2 separate regions of the Homo sapiens genome follow, and region 1 is linked to region 2. Evidence: promoter capture Hi-C in 16 types of primary human blood cells and fetal thymus (Javierre and others, 2016). All regions are on one chromosome and are shown on one strand. Each heading gives the region's core, a stretch centred on a gene start or on the middle of the fragment in contact. The rest is flanking DNA. Distances are from core to core; before and after follow the strand shown. Region 1 overlaps CD86 (CD86 molecule). Region 2 holds the start of POLQ (DNA polymerase theta).

Region 1 (3,414 bases), core at 838-3,337, 540 kb before region 2:
CCTAGGAGCCTGAGAAAGACAGAAACAGGGTCAGAGAAGACCAGAAGAGAATATGTGTGGAACAAAAGAGTCAAGTCTCAGGGGCCTCAGTGCAGCAGCCTTCCCCCATCCCCATGGGATGGGCCAGGCTACCCTACTCTGAGCATCTAGGCTCACTGATGTGAGACTGCAGAGGAGGAAGAAGCACACGGGGGGGAGAGCTCCATCCCAGCTGCCTGCCATCAGCTGCTCTCAATCATAACACTTCCTTCTTCTCCAGGAAAGTCTTTTTTGCATGTGGTCTTGTACAATGCTCAGTAGAAAGTGAGTAAAACCCACCAAGTCTCAGGCCTGGGCTTGCTGTGGTCAGACTCATCAGGAGACAGTAGGATTCCAGGACTTAACAAAGCTGAAAGGTTCTTACCAGAGAGCAGGAAGGCCATCACAAAGAGAATGTTACTCAGTCCCATAGTGCTAGAGTCGAGAAAAAAAAAGGTAAAACTTGATTAGAAAAGGAAACTGAAAACCGATGTTCACCAAAACATGACCTGGACGTGGAGTTTGGGATTCACTTGGGTTCTCGGGTGTGCAGAGACAATGCCAGGGCTTCATCAAAGCCATTTCCTTTTGCTCTTAGCTCCATCGATAGGTCACATTTCCCAGCCTCCCCTGCAGTTATACAGGCCATGAGACTGGCTTCTAGCCAATGGAATTGTGGGCAGAAAAGATGTTTCTTCCAGATCTGGCTGCTAAAGTCTCTTCTCTTTCCTCCCTCTCCTGCCTTCTTAGCAGCAGGGGATCCAGAGGAAATGTCCAAGGGCCTAGAAAATCGCAAAGTCTCACAATGGAAGAGATCTGGTTTGCTTAATAAACTAATAAAGCAGCTCTCTTTACACCTCTCCCACAACTGATCTACAATGGATTGTGATATTGGCAAAAAATAAAATTTGAGGGATTGATTATTGCAGTAGCTAGTATTATTTATCTTGACCAACATAACAGGCATGATGGGGGCAATCGGTTAGTATTGCATTTACGCTTAGAAATCTGCCTTCCTTTTGTTTTCCTGTGGTTCTCAAACTTGAATGTGAGTAAAAATCACCTGGAGAGTTTCCTGGGCCTCAACCACAGAAAGTCTGGCTTAGTAAGTTGGGATGAAACCCATGAATTTTTATGTTTAACAACATAAGGTGATGACAATGCTGCCGGCCTAAGGACCACGCTTTGAGAGCAATTCACTTAATCTACATGATGAAGCCAAGAAAAAGGATATGCTTTGCTTTATAACCTCTATCTTCTTTCTTCCTCTCCCTCCTCCCTCCTTCACTACCCACGCACTTACCCTAACTAGCACCAAAAAGGCTGCTTAGTGGCTTATAAGGAAGCAAAGAATAAGGAGAGGTGACCAACATTAGATGCGATCAGGCACATTCAGGATGGTATGGCCATACACAGGAAAGATGACCAACATGAGAAACAGGTGGAAAAGCAAACCAAATACAGGAATATGATACAGAGCCAAGGACAAGGCCAGTGCTAAATGCTTGCCCTAGAAATCTGCCCAATTTGCACTGAGGGGGACATAAATTTGGCTTATAGCTTTTTAACAGCCAATGTAAAAAGGAAAACCTAACCAGTGAATTAATTCACAGGTCTGTCCACTAAATTCATAGGTCTGTTGATAAAAACAAATCAATTCTTTCCAGGAAAAGATGCACAACTATTCTTGATCGAATAGCAGAAATGTATGCCCCAGACGGTGTTGTCTAGAAGCCATATGTGTTTCTTTCCTCTGCTCTCATAGCACCCAGTGCAGGACATTGGGCTAGAAGTGTCTGTTATGTTTTTTTTCCTTCTAGACTATACCTTTTCTTTTTTTAATAAATATTTTTGAATAGATCATGGTACTAAATGTAGATGGTACTAAATTTGAAAGATAAAGGTGATAAATAGTGGAAAGCAAGTCTGCCTCCCAGCCTTGTCCCTTAGCTGTCTAGTTTTCTTCCACAGAGGTAACAGGGGTGATCACTGTTACATGTTACCAGTTTCTTGCCTCTACTTAAAGTTACTTTAGACAAAACTAAACAAAAACATTGACCCATATTCTGTTTTCTTTTTATTTTTAAGCACAAATGGTAGCATACTATGTACGGTTTTGCACACATATGACTACCTTGGAGATTATTCTGTATCAGCATGTAACGAGTATCCTCATGCTAAAAGTTGCATATTAGTCTATTGTATTCTATTGGATGACAATAATATATATATATTTCCAGACCACTAGTGATGGATACTTAACGTTGTTTCCAATCTTTTGTTGCAATGGAAAACCTTGATTATATGCCATATCACACAGGTGGGAGTAAGCTATATTCCTAGAAGCAGAATCGTTTGACCAAAGGGTTGAAGAATAGTTGCAAATTGTTCTCCCCTGAGATTATACGTTTATGCTCTGATCAACACAAGAGTGCTTATTTTCATGTACCTTTTGCCAACATGTTTTCTAATTTGTGATCTTTAGCAATAGGAAATGGTGAAATTACATCTCATAAGTTTTAGAAATCTTTGTTATTTAGAAATCTTTATTAGTTTATGAGATTATACGTTTATGCTCTGATCAACACAAGAGTGCTTATTTTCATGTACCTTTTGCCAACGTGTTTTCTAATTTGTGATCTTTAGCAATAGGAAACGGTGAAATTAGATCTCATAAGTTTTAGAAATCTTTATTAGTTGTGGCATAATACACATAAAATTTGCCATCTTCACCTTTTGAGTGTACAGTGGTATGAAATACATTCACATTGTTGTACAGTCATCACTACATCCATCTTCAGAACTCTTTCATCTTGCAAAACTAAGCCTCTATACCTATTAAACAATAACTCTTCTTTCTCTCCTCCTCTCAGCTCTTGCCAACCACCATTCCACCTTCTGTTTCCATGAATTTGACTGCTTAGGGTATAAGTAAACTCATACAGTATTTGTCTTTTTGTGACTGGCTTATTTCACTTAGTATAATGTATTCAAGGGCCATCCACATTGTAGCATGTGTTTGAATTTCCTTTCTTTCTAAGACTAAATGATATTCCACTGTATGTACATACTACATTTTGTTTATCCATTCATTTTTGATGGACATTTGAGTTGCTTCCACCTTTTGGCTATTGTGCATAATGCTGGTATGAACAAGGCTGTATGAATATCTCTTTAAGACTCTGCTTTCAGTTCTTTTGGGTATATACCCAGAAGGGGAATTGCTAGATCATGTGGTCATTCTATTTTTAATTTTCTGAGGAACTGCTACACTATTTTCCATAGCAGCGACATCACTTTACATTCCCATCGACAACTGGAACAAGAGCTCCAATTTCTCCACATCCTTGCCAACACTTGTTCAATTCTCATATTCTGTGATAAGTAGGTTGCTGT
Region 2 (3,592 bases), core at 141-2,640:
TCTTTGTCGCACAGGTTGGAGTGCAGTGGTGCGATCTCGGCTCACTACAACCACCGCCTCCCAGGTTCAAGCAATTCTCCCGCCTCAGCCTCCAGAGTAGCTGGGATTACAGGCACCCGCCATCATACCCGGCTAATTTTTTGTATTTTTGTAGAGACGGGGTTTCACCATGTTGGCCAGGCTGGTCTAGAGCTCCTGACCTCAGGTGATGCACTCATCTCGGCCTCCCAAAGTGCTGGGATTACAGGCGTGAGCCACCACGGCCGGCGAGATCTCTTTTATTTCTTTAATAGTACTCTTCATTTCTGCCCAAGCATATGGCACACTTCATTAACTGACTTGTTTAATGTCTGCCTTATTCTCTAGACTCTTTCTCTTTGAGAGCAGGAACCATTTTATGCCATTTCACTGCCATTTACCCAGTGGCTAGCTTACAGTAGATACTCAGTAAATAGTTGTTGATTGCGTAAAAGGCCAAGAGAAAAATGTTTCATTCACGGAGTAATGTCGCCATCTCGTGGAACTTTAGAATATTGTCATTTAAATCAAAAAAATGTTTTCACGGAAGGAATTGATGGTTCGAATGCTATTTTCCAGATTGTATTCGAGTGTTTTTTTTTTTTTTAATTGGACTGGACCTTTTGAGATTTTTAGTGCTCTAGAACTGCACAGCCTCTTCAGGTCAGGCTTAGGGCCTACTAGTTTTGCTTGGTGAAATGAATTATGCAACTAGGTAATGAATGGTCACCGTTTTACGTTCAGAACTCGTTCGCTTCTACCTTTACAAAAGGGACAACACAGATGCATTACTAAGCTCTTGGCTCATAACGATCCCTGGGGTATATTCAGAGCCCCTTCCTCGCGGCGTTCATATAGTGTCTCAGGGGTCTGTCAGCCAGCAATCCCCAATTCCTCATTACATATTCCTCACAATGCATGCTGGCTAAAATGGAAATTGTGTTCAGAAATAGCCCTGCCCTACCATCATATACTAGGAGAAAGGAGGAAATTATGCTCTATTAGAAACCCTAGGCTATCTTGCATAATGCTTCTCAATCTGAAATAATTTTTTACAGAATACCAATACGTTAAGAAGAGCTACTTCCCTGATCTACCTATTATGGGCAGCCCATTTTATGAAGTTAGCATGGCCTTCCTATTCAAACCAGAAATGGACAAAAGGAGAAGGAAGGCTTTTAGGTCAGTATGGTTATAACTGTAGATTCTGTATTCTTCCTCTTTAATCTATCTCTCATATTAACCAACCAGGAGGTTGGAGGCCGGAAGTCTTAGACGCCAGCGAGAGCCGCTCCTTCCCCACGAGTCTATGGCTTTCGGGTTACTTAAGCCACGGAGAACTCTATGGTTCCGGGGCGGGCCGGGAGGTTTGAGTTTGAAGACTGGCGGGAAGATGTCCGCAGCTGTTGCCAGGCCAGGGTTCTCCCGAGAGGGAGGACGCTGGGACTGTGGCTTGCCCTGATCGGCCGAGAAGAGTTTGCCATGAATCTTCTGCGTCGGAGTGGGAAACGGCGGCGTTCAGAATCAGGCTCAGATTCGTTCTCGGGAAGCGGCGGTGACAGCAGTGCCAGCCCCCAGTTCCTCTCCGGGTCCGTGCTGAGCCCGCCGCCCGGCCTTGGTCGCTGCCTGAAGGCCGCAGCTGCAGGTGCTCCAGGAACCCGGGAGGCCGCGGGCAACGGGGGCAGCTCCGCCGGGCCATGGGTCGGGAGGTGTCCTCACCCCACGGGACTTGCTTCGTTGCATACCCCATTGGGCTTCTACTCCCCTTCTCTGTGACTGGGGCCTGGTGTGGCAGGTCACTTTCTGTTCAGACATACGCGTGTTTTCAGTGATCGCCTGGTATTAATGTTCACGTGGCTTCTGGATCTTTCGACCTTTAGAGAAACAACTTCCTAGTTAGCTTCATCCCATCATCTGTTGGGCGGCTCGTTCCTGGTAGTACCCAGTACTCCTTACAGACCCTTAAGACAGGATTGTTGGGCCTGGAGTACGGCACAGGCTGTTCGGCGTCCAGGGGAAGGCTGGAAGGGATTCGTAATGAGATTGGTTGGGTGTCCCGTGGATGTCGACCCAGTTTTTTAAAATCGTTAGTTGTGCAGTCGTCATGGAACTAAAACTTACTATAAATAGAAACTCACCTAACTTAGCTTTGTAATGCTTGCATATTGCCCTCCTCCCCCAACTACACCCGTAATTCCAACACTCTTTATCTACTGTGTATTGCACGCTTTTTTGTTCGTTTGAGGCTTTTAAGGAATTTTTATTATATGCAGTAAATAACAATTTATTACTTTTCTATACATGGTCAATTTCTCATAAGATTCTTGAAGTCAGGATGTGCTTTAAAGAGCTTCATTTCAACACATAGGAATTCCAACACACGGTGAAGGGCTAACTGTAAAACTCATATATTAGAAGTAAATTAAATTTTAATTTTTTCTTTTTCCTAAAAGGAGAATGCAAGCCTACAGTTCCTGACTACGAAAGAGACAAGCTACTATTGGCAAACTGGGGACTTCCTAAAGCAGTTCTGGAAAAATACCACAGTTTTGGTGTAAAAAAGATGTTTGAATGGCAGGCAGAGTGCCTTTTGCTTGGACAAGTCCTGGAAGGAAAGAATTTAGTTTATTCAGGTATCCAAATTTATGTAAACTAATTACTATTTTTAAGATATGAATGTAAAGAATACTCTATTGAGGTAGTTGTGGTTCGTTTAAAAGGTGAATGAGGCAGTGCTTTATAACTAGAGAAAATCGTACAATATGTGTGAAAAGTGGAGTTTTATTTATATTTAAATTACAAAAGTTTTATTGTTTGACTGGGGTGGAGGGAAGCAAGAAAAATGACAATTTAAAGAGTGGGCAATTCTGCCTGCCATTATTCTCAACAAACATATATCCCAGTGAGTGTGCAATGGGAGATGTAAATCTGCCCTTCCCCTGTTTGATCCTGGTTGCTTTTCAGGGTATGAGCATTATCATTACATGTTTGTTAATTTACCTTTTTTTTTTCTTGAGATAGAGTTTGTCTCCAGGCTGGAGTGCAGTGGCGCTATGTGGGCTTACTGCAACTTCCACCTCCCAGGTTCAAGTGATTCTCCTGCCTCAGCCTCCCAAGTAGCTGGAATTACAGGTGTGCGCCACCAGGCCCAGCTACTTTTTTGTATTTTTAGTAGAGATGGGATTTCACTGTGTTGGCCAGACTGGTCTTGAGCTTCTGACAAGTGATCTGCCTACCTTAGCCTCCCAAAGTGCTGGGATTATAGGTGTGAGTCACCGTGCCCAGCTATAGATTGACCTGTTTGTACAGGGTTGTATATACAAACAACAAGTAATATACTTTATATAAAATTTTTATGGGTTTTCTTTTTTTTTTTTGAGATGGAGTCTTGCTCTGTCGCCCAGACTGGAGTGCAATGGAGTTGTCTCGGCTCACGGCACCCTCTGCCTCCCGGGTTCAAGTGATTCACCTGCCTCAGCCTCCTGAGTACCTAGGATTACAGATGCCCGCTGCCATGCCTAGCTAATTTTTGTATTTTTAGTAGAGACGGGGTTTCACATCTTGGTCAGGCTGG

The links. Contacts are between HindIII fragments. The CHiCAGO score rates a contact against its expected background, and 5 or more counts as called.
Region 1: a fragment that was not itself captured here is called in contact with the fragment with the promoter of POLQ in region 2 in 1 of 17 cell types (naive CD8 T cells); the score reaches 5.4 in naive CD8 T cells.

What each region holds. Positions count from the first base shown.
Region 1 is chr3:122,088,640-122,092,053 of GRCh38, reverse strand. CD86 (CD86 molecule) reads right to left here. Exons shown (of 7, transcript NM_175862.5): 2 at 404-453. Among named protein-coding and RNA genes, the nearest start is that of CD86, 35 kb to the right of the region's middle. The HindIII fragment of the contact is 4,556 bases long and covers 1-3,414 here.
Region 2 is chr3:121,543,786-121,547,377 of GRCh38, reverse strand. It overlaps POLQ (DNA polymerase theta), which reads left to right and starts at 1,390. Exons shown (of 30, transcript NM_199420.4): 1 at 1,390-1,663; 2 at 2,472-2,651. The coding sequence starts at 1,501. RefSeq lists enhancers at 1,242-1,536, 1,428-1,657. The HindIII fragment of the contact is 11,524 bases long and covers 1-3,592 here.